Linked DNA regions of Homo sapiens: region 2 is linked to region 1. Evidence: promoter capture Hi-C in 16 types of primary human blood cells and fetal thymus (Javierre and others, 2016). All regions are on one chromosome and are shown on one strand. Each heading gives the region's core, a stretch centred on a gene start or on the middle of the fragment in contact. The rest is flanking DNA. Distances are from core to core; before and after follow the strand shown. Region 1 holds the start of TAGAP (T cell activation RhoGTPase activating protein). Region 2 has its middle 19 kb from the start of FNDC1.

Region 1 (7,878 bases), core at 1,901-4,400:
CTGGGTGGTCCCAGGAAGAGAAAGGGAAAGTGAGTTCAAACTGAAGAGCCGGACTCTAATCCTCCAGTTGGTGTTTCCCAGGCAAGCTGGGTAAACAATGTGGGGAAAATGACTTCCATATTCTCGTTCACAACAGTCCAGACTGAAGCGGTAACTGAGCCTGAAAGTATGGGAAGGAACGATGGTGCTTCCAGTCACCCTCCAAAGCACACATGTACACAGCATAGAACTCACAGTCCCCAGAACGGAACTCACTGTCCTTAGAGACTCACCACAAGAAAAGCAAAGCCAATTATTTGCAGAAAAATTGATTGTGACCAGGACCCAAGCGATAAAAGTCCCACTGTGAGAAGCATCTTTACAGGTGTGGGTTTCACCGGGGTTTCCTTCAGCCCAACCCAGCAAAAGCCACTGAAGTTCCTTTCCACGTTCTGAAGACTCTTACTATGCAGGACGATGAGAGCTTGCTTTTCAAAGAGATGTGTGGGAGACAAGAATATGGAAAAAGTGAATCTGACATTTCCATCTTTTTTTCTAACTTTTGGCATGACTGCTTCCAAATTTTACACTTTATTTATAAATGTTTCTCCTAGTGCTCGGAAAACTGCGATCAAAATTACTGTGAGATTTTCAGAGTTGAGGGTGCAGCACCTGCCCTTCACAACTCTTTCTCTTTCCACAGTAGGCGCCATATGCAGGCGGGGCCACAGTCATAAAGGAGAACGTCTCCTCAGTCCCCCAGCAGCACCAGCCAACAATGGTGGCTTTCCTTCAGTCACAAAATGTACCTATTCATTAGATGTTGACTGTCAAAATCTCCCAGGGACCCCAAAGGATGGCACCTCCCTCTGGGCTTTCCCACCATCAGTTGTGTCAATAAGAAGAGCCAAAACATATTTCTGTTTCAAAAAATGGAGGGGCCCTAATTCTGTTGCCGTATTTGCTACTAACTTTTCATCCTAGATAGTTCCCTGGGTGCTTAACTAGGCATGGTAGGTCCCAGAAGAAAAAGAAAAGTCCGTCGATGTAACCATTTCTGCAGGTCATCAAACCATTCATGTTATGTATTTTTAAAAGATGCTGAGGCTGGGCACAGTGGCTCACATCTGTAATCCCAGCACTTTGGGAGGCCAAGATGGGTGGATCACCTGAGGTCAGGATTTCCAGACCAGCCTGGCCAACATGGCGAAACCCCATCTCTACTAAAAATACAAAAATTAGCCAGGTATGGTGGCGCGTGCCTGTAATTCCAACTACTCAGGAGGTTGAGACAGGAGAATCACTTGAACCCAGGAGGCAGAGGTTGCAGTGAGCCGAGATCACGCCATTGCACTCCAGCCTGGGTGACAAGAGCGAAACTCCATCTCAAAAAAAAAAAAAAAGAAAGAACAGTAAGTACATTAAGTTTCTTACAAAAATTTGAAAAGTCCGTTTGTCGGGAAAAAAAAAAGTTTAGAAAATACATACTAGCAATGAATATACATCACATATATATTCTATGATATATAGAACATTATAGTAATATTCTATTTTGGCTATTTTATAAGGAAATGTATATATTCAGAAATTAGTTATTTAGTACCTACTATATGCCTAGCACTAGGCTGGGCACAGCGTAAATGCCCTTTTTCAATTAAAAAAATCAGTGAGTTCACTTTGGAGGTTTATAAAGGCAGGAGAGGGATGCTGAAAGAGTGGTGGCCTCTACAGCTGCCCTGGGAACACTGGGTGAACTCTGGCACTGTGGTGGCTTTCAGAGAGGGAGCCCCCAGCTGGAAGCCTGAAAACCAGGATCTGTCCCTAGGTCCCCACCGAGCCGCTAAGTTACAGAGCAAATTTCGACCTCTCTGTGCTTCGGTTTCCCAAAGTCTGCCCCATAATCACCTCCTTTCAGTAAAATGACAAAAGAACTGACAATGCGGAAAAGTCTTAAAATTAAAGATGCTGATGATAAATGAAGCCAAGTTATTTTAAAACTTTTTATTGAAAAATTACATAAATAGGGAAGTGTGCACATAAGCCTAGCACCACCCAGATCAAGAATGGACCATCACCAAGCCCCCCGCTGGCCCCTGGAAGTCATTACCATCCCCTCTGGGAAACTGCTACTCTTGCTTCCAACAGCACAGACGACTTTTGCTAATTTTGTGCTTTGCATTAATGGGAGCCGGCAGGATATACACTTTCACGTCTGGCTTCTTTTGCTCAGCGTCATATTATGAGATCCAACCATATTGTTGGCTATAGTCATAGGCTGTTCATTATCAGTGCTATACAACATTCATTCCCTATGTGAATGGATCACAATTTATGCATCCATTCTCGTGTCGAGGCATTTGAGTGGTTTCATATATAGCCCTTGATCTACAGAAAAGATCAGAAATTCTCTTATGCAGAAGAGTGATCCACAAATGAAATTCACCATCTCTTTCCTACTTTAAGTTGGTCTGATCAAAGGAATTTTTTTGTTTGTTTTCCTTCCGTGTCAGAACGACAGCTGCTCTGACTGTAAATTAAGTATCAATACTTTTGACCAGGAGTTACAGAAAGGAGGAGGGGGTTACTATATTGACAACTGACTCGAGGGAGTTTTCTTTCTACTTCCAAAGGAAACTAACCTGGCTTTGGACGGTGATTGTTCCTCAAGGAAGGGACTGTCTTGGGTTTCTTTCTGGTTCTGTAACAGTGTCCCACATCCAGGGGTGCTAATCAACGTGTGGTGCTGGTGGACAGAGCAGATGGCACGTGGGAGGGGAAAGAGCACCCAAACAGGATGCAAAAAGAGGCACTTGAAATTACCACTTTAGAAAATAAAGTGATGTTTATGCACAGAATAACACAATTTCTTGTTCACACATCCCACCTATGACATTAATCAGAGCCTTCACCTATGGGCTGAATGTCATGTTTTCCACTCCTAGTAGTTTACAGATTTTTTACTTTGAAGTGGAAGACACAAAAAAAAAAAAAAAAAAAAAAAAAAAAAAAGACATAGCTGCCCTAAAAGGAATGAGGAAGCGAGAGCTCTCCAGTGTCTGGCTGGCTCCGTCCGTGTGACAGCCCATGATGTTCTTTCCGGTCTCTGTAATATTCTGAATTTCCACCTGCCCGCCCCTTCGCTTATAATGCAGAGCATGTGAAGGGAGACCGGCTCGGTCTCTCTCTCTCCCAGTGGACTAGAAGGAGCAGAGAGTTATGCTGTTTCTCCCATTCTTTACAGCTCACCGGATGTAAAAGAACTCTGGCTAGAGACCCTCCAAGGGTAAGTACACTATATATTAACATGCCTAGAAATTACAAGCTGCCTCGCAAGTCACAGGTCACTCAGATCACAGGCAACAGAAAACAGCTATCCCGTGGAATATGCTCTCACTTTATAAAGTCTCAGGACAAAGCTTTGCTTCAACGTGAAGGCTGCACCTTTTTGGTGTAGGAGTTCTGTAAATGTTATCTTTGTTTCATGTTTACTATTTTAGCATCCTAGGGATATGTTTTTTTTTTTTTCCTTTTTGGATTAGATGAGAAAATCCATGCAAAGCACCTACTACGACAGCTGGCATATAGTCAGCACTCCACCAAAAAAGTTAATGTTCATGTTAATTTAAAATGTTAACGTAATTGATATCCAGATTATCTCTTGATGGAACGGAATAAATTGGTAACAACGTTTAGAGTGGTAAAGATAGTTGACTTAAATAATTTAGAAATAATTGTGTTCAGATGCTGCTCTTAACAACATACAACATCTGGTAACAGAACTGATTTTAAATGAAAACTTGTCTATGTAATAGTTTTTTCCAAAGTAAAGGCAAGTGAAAAAATAGCAAAAGAGAAAAATAAATAAATAGTTTCAAACTCTGTGCTTTGGCAAAGTGGCGCTGAAAGTGGCCTACTGTGTGAGTCCCTCCTAACTCCTTTCCATGTGATTCGTTGTAGACAGAGGCACAGCCACACGGGAGTGAAATCCACCCCTGGACAGTCAGCCGCAATACTGATGAAGCTGAGAAGCAGCCACAATGCTGTGAGTGCCCCTCTCACATTCATTCATTCACGTTTCCTACAGGCAAGGGCCAAAAGATATTTACCTAATTTTATTTTTTCTCTTTTAGTCAAAAACACTAAACGCCAATAATATGGAGACACTAATCGAATGTCAATCAGAGGTAAGAAAGCAATTTTTAAGACTTTTTATCTGTACTGTGAGAAGGTGGAAAACTTTGTTTTAATTGAATATTATTTGGGTTGAATAGTAATTATAAGAGTAGTAAACTAACATCACACATGTAGTAAATTAAGCACATTAATTAGGATCTTATATGATGACAATCAAGACCTTAATATTGCTTCTAGAAGCTAGAAAAAACATCAATGCACTCTACTGACTTCATTTTTAATATGAATAAAATGCTGTATGTGTGTTTTGTGGGGAAAGACTCGATAGGTTTCTTCAGTCACTATATTTAACTGAAATAAAAATGTTTTTAGGGTGATATCAAGGAACATCCCCTGTTGGCATCATGTGAGAGTGAAGACAGTATTTGCCAGCTCATTGGTGAGTTTTAAAAACATACCGATCTTTTATGTAAGTGCTAACAACCAGTGCTCTTGGTTTGCAAAACCACAGCGCTTTTACTCTACTAGGAATTTTTTTGTATAAGTTGTTCTGTTAAAGACCGCAGAACATTAACCCTTAAATGGCAGGTATGCTCCAACTCACTAGAGCAGGGAGTGCTGGGAAAGGAAAGAGCCTCTCCATAGAGAATCCCCAGTTCTGCCAAGCGTTTTTAATGCGGTTCAATCTCCTGGCCATGTATGTTTCGACAATTAGCATGCACACATTTGAAAAACACACAGTGTCTTTTCCATTTTCTTCCTTCTCTTATGGAGAATGCATCCAAGAGCCTATGAAGCAACTGTTGCTGATCTCAAATCCCAAAGGACCCACCATTCACTCTCAACTTTTTTCATAATGCATTTCATTATAGCGTAACCCTGACCCAGTTCTCCTGAACCATAAAGACAGGCCACTTCTTTCTCATCATGCTTCCACTTGCCAATCTGAAATGTATAGAAACAGATGCCAATGCATTTAGAAAATATAGCCTTTATAATTAGTAAGAAAGGAGAAGGAAGGAAGGAAGGAAAAGAAAAGAAAGAAGGAAATGTTTGAGATTGCAATATCCATTGCACACACATCTTGTGGATTTCAGAAGGACAGAATATCTTGATAACGTTTTGCTGATAATTCCCAGTTGCCAGATCTAGGTTCAAGGCTTCCCGCAGCGATTCGTATTTGCCTCTGTCCTAAAGCAGCAACCTGGAAAACCCAAGGTGACCAGTCACCTGGAAGGAAAAATGGTGTTAGCTCCCTCTAGTGGCTGTTTAGTGCCTGCGTGGCTGCAAAGGGTTGGAGCCAGCCCTGCTATGTGCCTTCGAAAAGATATTCAGCAAGTCACTTCCTCACCTTTTAAGTTTCGTTTTCTTCGCCAGTTAAAGGAGGAAATCAAAATAATCTATTTCATATCAGAAATTTCCTCTATAGTTATTCAGGCCAGTAGGTTAAGATGGTTGTTTATGATCAGCACAGTTAGGTTTTGCTAATTTTCTGTAGCAAACAGCTGGAAAGAGTGAAAACAGGAAAGGTGGAGGCCTTGAGGAACTCTGGTGTTGCTGTTTAGGGAACTGGTTGCCCTGGTAACAGTGTGGTTGTTTATCGGTTGGTTTTTCTAGATTAAGATTCACGCCCTTTGCTTTCTCAAGTTTTCAAAATTATTTTTCTCACATCGCATACTATTGACCACATTATGCGGCCAACGATACCCATTTTCTTACCTGGATCTTTGCTTCTTAACACTGTAGTCTAATTTTTCTCGTTGCCTTGTTTTCTTGGCTGTAGAAGTTAAGAAGAGAAAGAAGGTGCTGTCCTGGCCCTTTCTCATGAGAAGGCTCTCCCCTGCATCAGATTTTTCTGGGGCTTTGGAGACAGACTTGAAAGCATCGCTATTTGATCAGCCCTTGTCAATTATCTGCGGTGACAGTGACACACTCCCCAGACCCATCCAGGTAGGCGTGCATTCTCTCATAAACCTACTTCAGTTTTCAGTTGGACATGCAAAATACTCGGGAAATCTGAATGTCATTCTCCTATTAAGTTTGTAGGGACTGATCTTCCATATTTTCCACTCTTCAACATGGCACTCCCACATACGCGTGCAGTCAGAAGAATATCTGACTGCTTCCATTCCAGAAATTGAAATTAGTTGTATTTGCCAATGAGCTCAGAGCTATGGTCCCGCCATTCCTCTGACTTCACAGAGTGGAGAATGCTGAAGATTTGTAGCTTCTGAAAAGTCAAAAGGGGGAAACAGAATATAGACTTTGTGATCTGAAATCCAATGTTCATATGGAAGTATTTGAAAGGAGAGAGCTCCAAAGTGATTTTAGAAAGTGCAAAATTAGAGCTTTCACAATTTGCCTCCTCTTAGAAAAATAGCAGGGTTGAGGAAGGCCATTGACAGCAACTGGACTGAAAGCAAAATCTGACATCAATATTCCTGTTAAGACTATCTCAGTATACTAAAGAAGAAGGGTAACCCTTTCCTGTTCCTATTGCTGTTTCCTTTAGGACATTCTCACTATTCTATGCCTTAAAGGCCCTTCAACGGAAGGGATATTCAGGAGAGCAGCCAACGAGAAAGCCCGTAAGGAGCTGAAGGAGGAGCTCAACTCTGGGGATGCGGTGGATCTGGAGAGGCTCCCCGTGCACCTCCTCGCTGTGGTCTTTAAGGTGAGTTCAACACACTTGCGCCAAATAACCTGCCAAGGGGCCCTGACACACTCATTCTCAGGATGCAAGAAATAGGCTCTTCTCCCCACACAGCAAGGTACACTGATCTTGGAGTTTAATTTTTTTCATTAAGCCCTTTATTTATTTATTTAGTAAGCACCTCTGTTTCTGTGACCTCAGATTCCAACAGAAAGTGATGCATTCTGCTCTCCCAAAACTTTGCCAAGTACGGGCAATTTGATTGTTCCGTGGCAGAATCCATACGTCAAAATCCAGTGGCCCCTCAGAACACACCCACCTGGGGATGGTGCCTCTGACTCTGCCTGATGTTAGAAAGTTGCAGAGAGGCCAAGGGTGTTGGAGAGAGGGTTCCCTGGATTCATCAAATGCAGGAATGAAGGGCCACAATCTATGATGGGCTAAGCATAGAGCACCCTGCGATGGAACGAAAACCGGGTGAAAACAAGGACATGGGACATCATACAGTACCAATAGGCCAACAGCCCACTCTCATCCCCCAGGACTTCCTCAGAAGTATCCCCCGGAAGCTACTTTCAAGCGACCTCTTTGAGGAGTGGATGGGTGCTCTGGAGATGCAGGACGAGGAGGACAGAATCGAGGCCCTGAAACAGTAAGTCATCAAAGTCATCGGTCATTGCCAGGCCACATCACCTCCGTCTTTTGATTCTTTACACAGCTTTCTAAATGCTTCATGATCCCTGTTCCATGAGAATTGTGATGTTTAGGGAATCCGAGTGGAATTGCTCGTCCACTCCCAGAACAAAAACCAGAGGGTGCCCTGGACTTTTGAATTTTAATTTTAGCCAAATGAAATATTTCTTCAAAAAGTAGAAAGCGAACTTCAATCCTCACAAATCCCAAGAGGTAGGGAAGTCTGAAAATGTAAGATGTTCAAAAAGGTATGAGATAAAATCAGACCTGAGAACTTTAACACAGGCTCACCAGCAAAGTGTAGAAATTCGGGATTATCTTTAAGCTACACTGACTGGTGTCATGCAAGGCAACAGTTCTCCCATAAAACATCCCTCAGGATGCAGCCAGACAGTGTGGTGGGGGGCAGTTGTTTTGTT
Region 2 (7,878 bases), core at 2,038-4,537, 110 kb before region 1:
TTTATAAAAATTGGTTATAAATTAGGCTATAAAAAAGCCATATCAAATTTCAAAAAAAAAATTATACATCTAGACTATGTTCTCTCACTATAGTGCAATGAAGTCAGACTTAAAAATCAAAATTTAAAATATATTTTCAGAAATCAAACATAGACAAAATCATAACACAAACTTTTAAATGCTCAGAACTGAACAATAATAAATCTTGTACGTATCATAACTGGTAGGATATTGCAAAAGTAGAAAATATATAGCCTTAATATTTATATATGAGGGAAATATAAAGCCTTAAATGTAAGGCTATATATTAGCCTTAAATATACCTTGTATTTAAAAATAAAGGATTGAAAATAAGCTGAATACCCCGTTAAAAAGTTAGGGGAAGATAACAAACTCTTTTTTTTAAAAAAAAAAAGGAAGGAGATAATTAAGATACTAGCAGACATTAGTGAAAAGGAACACAAAGGTACCATGGAGGGCGTAATGCAAAAAAAATGGTTCTTAGCTAAGACTAATATAATTGCCATATATTTAATGATATTTATTTTTTAAAAAGATAGAATGCACAAATGAAGAGTAGTAAGATTTAAAGAGACACAACTACACAAACAGTAGATATTAAAAAGAAAAGGCCAGGCGTGGTGGCTCTTGCCTGTAATCCCAGCACTTTGGGAGGCCGAGGGGGGCGGATCACCTGAGGTCACGAGTTGGGTTAGAGACCAGCGTGACCAACATGGTGAAACTCCACCTCTACTAAAAATACAAAAATTAGCCGGGCGTGGTGTCACATGCCTGTAATCCCAGCTACTTGGGAGGCTGAGGCAGGAGAATTGCTTGAACCTGGGAGGCAGAGTTGCAGTGAGCGGAGATCACACCGCTGCACTCCAGCCTGGGCAAAAAGAGTGAGACTCCATCTTAAAAAAAGGAAAAAGAAAAAGAAAAGAAGATTGCTATGAATTATCATACTTATTTTGTCTACCTATCATAATTACCTCATCTGCTTATCAAATGTTATGTTAATAAATTTGAAAATTCATATAAAATAAATAAATTCCTGGAAAATTATAACCTACAAAATTTGACTTTAAAACAATGGGAATGACCAATCGGTCCTGCAATTATTAAAGAAATGTAATTAGTAGTTTAAAATCTTCCTATAAAGAAAATAGAAGGCCCAGAAAACTTTATGGACAAATTCTAAAAACCTTTCAATAAAAATTGTTCCAATCATCTGGAAAGATTAGAACATTTCATTTAGAAAAACTAAACAATCCCCTTGTAGCATTCTTGTGAGGTTAATATAGCCTTGATGCCAAAACCAGACAAAGATGATATGATGAAGGAAAATTACAGACGATTAACTGATAAACATTGATACAACAATTCTAAACAGCATTAACAACCAAATGCAGCCAAGTCTAATCTTGTCCAAATTTGCTCTATCCCAGGAATTCAGAAGAGGTTTAATATTAGAATAAATGTAATTTACCACATTTAATAGAATGATAGAGAATAACCATACGGTCTTCTCATTTGACGCACAAAAACTATTTGATAAAATTCAACATCTTAAAAAAAATTCTTAAACTGAAAACACAAGAGAGATTTCATAAACTGATGAATAGCATCCACAAAGAACCAAGGGCAAACATCACTCTTAATTGTGAAATATGAGAAGCATGGATGTCCACTATCCTGAGGTCTATTCCACACTGGAGGCCTTGGCAAGGAGCTTTTATCTATTTCAGGCCTTTGGCAGTTTCTCCTTCTGTCCGTTGCATTGCTTGGCACATGAAAGACAATCTTTTCCACGTATCTTAGTAACAAAACAACACAACTTTATTTACTTAAGTAATCTTCCTTTCTGAGATCCTATAAAACATCCTGTAACCATATGGGGGTTATTGATTTAATTTTGCTTCATATATTTATTGACATTACATTACCATTATTTATTGGCTGTCAAAGATTTTCAGCAACACTCCTATGCAAAACCTTGAAAAGTCCTCGTTTCAATACTATGAATCTCTCTCCTCTGGACAATTTCCATTTTCTTTTAATCTCAACCAAGGTAGGTGAAGTGAGGAGACAAAAATCAAATGTGTAAATGTTTTCCTTTATTCATTTTACAGGAAATGTTTCAAGAAGTTGGGTGTGGGCATGGCTTCATCTCTTCACACTGTCTCCAGTACACACAGTTGTTGGTGATTGTGTACTCGCTGTGGTTCATCTTTACTTATGTTCATCTTTGCTTTATTTAGATTTTCCAAAAATCACCTAGACACTTTTTTCCACACAGGCAAGGAGCCCTCTGTGCACACAGGACATTACTTTAGTGATGTTACTTGCCCAGTTAGAGAATCTGAGTTCTTTTTCACATGCCTTCAATTCAAATCACAAATTATGCTACTTTTACAGATGGTTTACCTAAGAATAAAGTAATTGGCAAACATGATGTTAATTAAAGGAGCTTTTTGTATCATGCCTGTCCATTCTTTTGCTGGTATTTGCTGGTGATGTCATTATTTACAGTTGCTAAGGTGATCATGTAAGAATGCTTGGTTTTGGAATACTTAGTGTCCAAGTTTGTGGCTCACATCCTTACGAATCACTTCACTTATAAATGAAATTAATTTGACACTAGATCATTTTATCAGTTATGCCTCTGGCAAGTTAATATAAACCAGTTGTTTTTTTGGCAATAATAAATAATTTATTTGTTGGCCAACCCACTACAGCAAGCAGCATTTCTCTCACTTGGAAGTAAGCAACATCACTCTATCGGGAAATTGAAGTGGTATTGTATTAGGAAGATTGAATAGAGGAGACTCTCTGTTCATAACACAACAGAACTATTTAAAACAAATCAAAATAAAAATGAAGCCCAGACGCTTCCAATTGTGGGTAGAAATACAAATGCTACCTCCGATTGGAAGACAATTAGAGGTATTTGTCAAAATACTAAACGAACATATCCTTTAGATCATTGGCAAACAATAGAGACACACTCCGGCTAAATGAAGTAAAAAACAAACAAAAAACTCAGGATATTTGAAAAATATGGAAGAGCTCCCTGGATTAAAGAAAAGGCTGAATAACAAGGTCTCCAGAAAAACAAGATCAGAAAAGCTCTAGGGCAGAAACAGTTGCCAATTTCTCTAAGGCACCTCTTTCTGGACAAATCATTTCCAATAATTTTCCATTTTTGTGTTTCTTAAAAATTCAAGTTCCCAGGAGGAAGCATCTGATTGGGTTAGTTTGGGTGGCATGACCTCCCTTCTCCACAAGAGGGCGGCGTACAGAGTTTTCTGGACGCCGGACAAGCACAAACCACATGGATTTGTGTCAACAGAAAAGCAGAAGACAAAAATTAGAGATATTTTCTTATTACATCTCCATTTCCCCCAAAAGAAAATGGAGGTGTTATTATCAGAAAGAGAGAGAATGGAAGACAGGCAGATAAAAACAACACTTGCTCAATCTTCTTTGCAATATAGCAGTTCCACTCCAGTGACTTTTCAGACCGCTGGTAGAAGTCCAACTTGCTACCTCAGATATAAAGAACATGTTCATTTAATATTTTGACAAATCCTTCTAATTAGAGAACAATTAGAGGGATTGGGGACATTCAGAACCAACACTGGTTTCATCACGTGTTTTATGATCCCACCCCCTCTGCACCTGTCCTGGGCTGCTTGAAACACCTATTCACCCTTAAAGACTCAGCCCAAGGTTTACCCGCTTTGAGAAACCTTTATATCACTGGCAAACAATAGAGACACACTCTGGCTAAATTAAGTAAAAAACAGAAAACACGCAGTGTTCAAAGAATATGGCTGTCACACAGATGATGGATAGTATTTTTGCAATATTACTTTTAATAATAAAAGTAAAAAGAATACAGAGTCACATCAATAAAGCAGTAGTTAAGTAAAGTATTGTCCATCCAGACTGTAGAATTCTGAGAGCCACTAAAGTCAATGGACTGAAGTTACACGGATGCAGGAAGCTCTCGAATGCATATCAGCAGGTGGATAAAGGAAGTTTCAGAAGAGCTTGTGAAGCCTAAACATGTTTCTGTAGAACTATAAAGGATACACATTGAACAGGAAAACTCATGAGATCTAATAAGGAAACTTCCTTATTTTTATCTTTCACTGTTTCTTTAAAATATGTACAGTGGGAGTGGGAAAAGTTCTTCCCGACTCAGGGAGGAAACTCAGGCAGTGTCACGACTCCTGTGAATTTGTGAGTAATAAATAAATTCTAAGGTTGCTCTAAGTTAGAAACACTGTGTCAATTCCGTGACTAAAAATGTCAAATCCTATGTAATAGGCTGGGCGCAGTGTCTCATGCCTGTAATCCCAGCACTTTGGGAGGCCGAGGTGGGCGGATCACCAGGTCAGGAGTTCCAGACCAGCCTGGCCAACATGGCGAAACCCCATCTCTACTAAGAATACAAAAATTAGCTGGGTGCGGTGGTGCATGCCTGTAATCCCAGCTACTCAAGAGGCTGAAGCAGGAGAATTGCTTGAACCCGGGAGGTGGAGGTTGCAGTGAGCTGAGATCACGCCACTGCACTCCAGCCTGGGCGACAGAGTGAGACTCTGTCTCAAAAAAAAAAAAAGTCGTATGTAATAGTAAAAATTCCAAAGGATTTAAAATTGGATATTCTGCCACCGCCCAGCTGGAGCCCGCTGTACCTGGAAGACTGCAGAGTGCGAAGCCTTCTCTTCTTTCCTTTGATTTTTCCAGACCCTTCCAGAGTCAAGGTAGGAAAAGGAGTAGGAAGAACAGGAACAGGAATGTTCTTGCCCAGCTGGAAATGTTTTAGGCTTGCTTCACTCTCATGCGTGCCTCTGTGAGTTTCTAGAGGCCTCTCTGGGAAATATTCCACAGGGCTTTACATGATGCTGGCTGAATGCTTGCTTCAGATGGCTGGCGCCTTCCCTGCTCTTCTTCAAGAGTCTCACCCACGTGGATTCTCAGGGTTGGCAATCCCATTAGAATTTAGTCCCGTGAGATGCGTTTTGGGCTTCTGGCCTCCAGAATTGTAAGAGGAAACATTTGTGTTGTTTGAAGCCCCTGCGATTGTAGCAATGTGTTACCGCAGCAAGAGGGAACATGCACCTAGACTTGGGAACCTCCTGTATTTCTCAGACCCCTTGCATTTAGCTCAGTGGGGAATGTGACTGAGTTTGAGTTCTGGCCAGTGGAGTGTAATGAAAGTGGCATACATTACTTCCAGTCCTGGCTGGTAAAACATCCACAGGACTGTCCATGCTTCTGGTGGTCAGCCTGTAGAATGGAGAAAATCCAGCAGCAGACTCTGAGGCCCTTGGGGACAGCCGAGCTAACAGGAGGAAGGACCCTAAGTCCCAAAACACCCCTCACTCTGTCCTGCATTACAATCTGATATGAACAAGAAATACACCTTATTATAGTAGGTCACTTAGATCTTGGGACTGTTTGTTAAAATAGCTAATGTTTAATCTACTTTGAACACCCAGAATTCTATTTCTTAAATGGTAAGAAATACATAAGAGCAAACTTTGGTTGAACTTGACCAAACTACTTTAGGCCAGTTTATTTCCCAGTTTACTTCCCAATAGCTCAAATATCTACGACGGGTAAATCCACACATGATCTCCTAAACCTAAGTGTTTTAGCCAGAAGTGGGCAGTGAACAATGCCAGTTGTCTTCTCATACAAGTTGTATTAGTCAGTGTTCTTCAGAGGGGCAGAACTAATAGGATAGATGTGTATATAAAGGGGAGTTTATTAAGGCGTATTGATTCACACCATCACAAGGTGAGGTCCCACAACGGGCCGTCTGCAAACTGAGGAGCAAGGAAGCCAGTCCAAGTCCCAAAATCTCAAAAGCAGAGAAGCCGACAGTGCAGCCTTCAGTCTGTGGCCAAAGGTCCAAGAGTTCCAAAGCTGAGGAATTTGGAGTCCAATGCTCAAGGGCAGGAAGCATCCAGCACGGGAGAAAGATGGAGGCCAGAACACTAAACCAGTCCAGTCTTCCCACGTTCTTCTGCCTGCTTTATTCTGGCCAAGCTGGCAGCTGATTAGAAGGTGCCCACCCAGACTGAGGGTGGGTCTGCCTCTCCCAGTCCACTGACTCAAATGTTAATCTCCTTTGGCAACACCCTCACAGACACACCCAGGAACAATACTTTGCATCCTTCAATCCAATCAAGTTGACACTCAATATTAACCATCACACAAGTACACTGGGTCCTCATTATTCATGGTTCTGATTTGCGAATTAGCCTACTTTATAGAATTGAATTGTGACCCCAAATCAGTGCCCATGGTGCTTTCGAGGTCATTCTCAGACATGAGCAGAGTGGTGCAAAATATGAATCACCCAACTGGCACGTTCTCGGCTGAAGTCTAACAAGGTGACACCCTGCCTTCTTGTCCCAGCTCTGACAGTGTAAACAAGTGTCCTTTTCACTATTTCTTTACCGCTATGGTTTTCACAATTTTTGTGGTCATTGTTGGTGATTTCGCTGTTTAAAATGGCCCCCAAGATCGTGCTGAAGTGCTGTCTAGCGTCCCTAAGTGCAAGAATGCAGTGCTGTGCCTTATGGAGAAAATACGTGTGTTAGAGAAGCTTCATTCAGGCGTGAGTTACAGCGCTGTTGGCAATGAGCTCTATGTTAATGCATCCACGACGTATGTTAAATAAAATGTCTTTAAACATAAACACACACTTAGAAAAGGGTATATATTGATGGCTTGATGAAAATGTTGTGATCAGCGATTCACGGGAACCTAACCCTGTATTTCCCCCAGGAGCCAAGCTTCAGTATTTGCTAATTCAGTGTTCATAGCAAATGTATAAACCATAACTACCACGCATAACGATAATAAGCTGTACTTTAGTTTTTGATAGTTTGCAATTCAGAGAAAAGATGACCTATTCTGATTTTTAAACTTATAATGGAAAAGTCTACACTCTCCTTAGGAAACCTCTCTAATTTCAAACTTCAGCTATAATCCACAAAGATGGTTTATGATATGCTTTGGATTTGTGTCCCCACCCAAATCTCATGTTGAATTGTAATCCCCAATGTTGGAGGAGGGGCCTGGTGGGAGGCGATTTGATCATGGGGGCAGATTTCCCCCTTCCTGTTCTCATGATAGTGAATGAGTTCTCGTGAGATCTCATTGTTTAAAAGTGCATAGCATCTCCCCCCTGCTCTCTCTTCCTCCTGCTCCAATCGTGTAAGACACGCCTGCTTCCCCCTCACCTTCTACCATGTTTATAAGTTCTCTGAGGCCTCCCCAGCCATGCTTCCTGTAGAGCCAGCAGAACTGTGAGCCAATTAAGCCTCTTTTCTTTATAAATTACCAAGTCTCAGATAGCTCCTTATTTCAGTGTGAGAACAGACTAATACAGTTTATATTTTCAGCCCCAATCTTTCCTTTGAGTTCAGCTCCCCTTCTCCAGCTTCCTACCGGGTATTTGCACTTGAATTTCCTATTATTATCAAAATCCAAATGGCAATACCCCATGTAATTTTCGCTGTTCTCTCTGAATCCCAGTCCCATAACCATTAACACCTTCTGTTTCCATTAATGGTCCTCCATTTTCCAAAGCTCTTAGGTACGGAAATCTTAGGCACTATCTCACCTTACCTAGCCAATCCATCACAAGTCCCCTTGGTTTTAATTGCAGAATCTCTTACCCTTTCATTCCACTGTTACTCCTACCACCCTAGTCAGGTTCCTCTTACTTCATACCTAGGTAAGTGTGATTGCATTCTAACTGAAGTCCCTTTCCAGCTCTCCAGATCATCCTGTACCTTAGTATAAGACTGACCTTCCTAAAACACATTTCCAACATGTCGTATGTCTGAGTTG

What was found. Contacts are between HindIII fragments. The CHiCAGO score rates a contact against its expected background, and 5 or more counts as called.
Region 2: a contact is called between a fragment that was not itself captured here and the fragment with the promoter of TAGAP in region 1, in 2 of 17 cell types (naive B cells and total B cells). The highest score is 7.5, in naive B cells.

What each region holds. Positions count from the first base shown.
Region 1 is chr6:159,040,263-159,048,140 of GRCh38, reverse strand. It overlaps TAGAP (T cell activation RhoGTPase activating protein), which reads left to right and starts at 3,150. Exons shown (of 10, transcript NM_054114.5): 1 at 3,150-3,262; 2 at 3,937-4,021; 3 at 4,110-4,163; 4 at 4,486-4,552; 5 at 5,897-6,063; 6 at 6,626-6,787; 7 at 7,309-7,418. The coding sequence starts at 3,995. TAGAP-AS1 (TAGAP antisense RNA 1) reads right to left here. Exons shown (of 5, transcript NR_183546.1): 4 at 7,086-7,222; 5 at 5,085-6,343. RefSeq lists enhancers at 5,447-5,716, 6,290-7,489. The HindIII fragment of the contact is 8,846 bases long and covers 1-3,397 here.
Region 2 is chr6:159,146,874-159,154,751 of GRCh38, reverse strand. No RefSeq gene overlaps it. Among named protein-coding and RNA genes, the nearest start is that of FNDC1, 19 kb to the left of the region's middle. The HindIII fragment of the contact is 6,680 bases long and covers 1-6,627 here.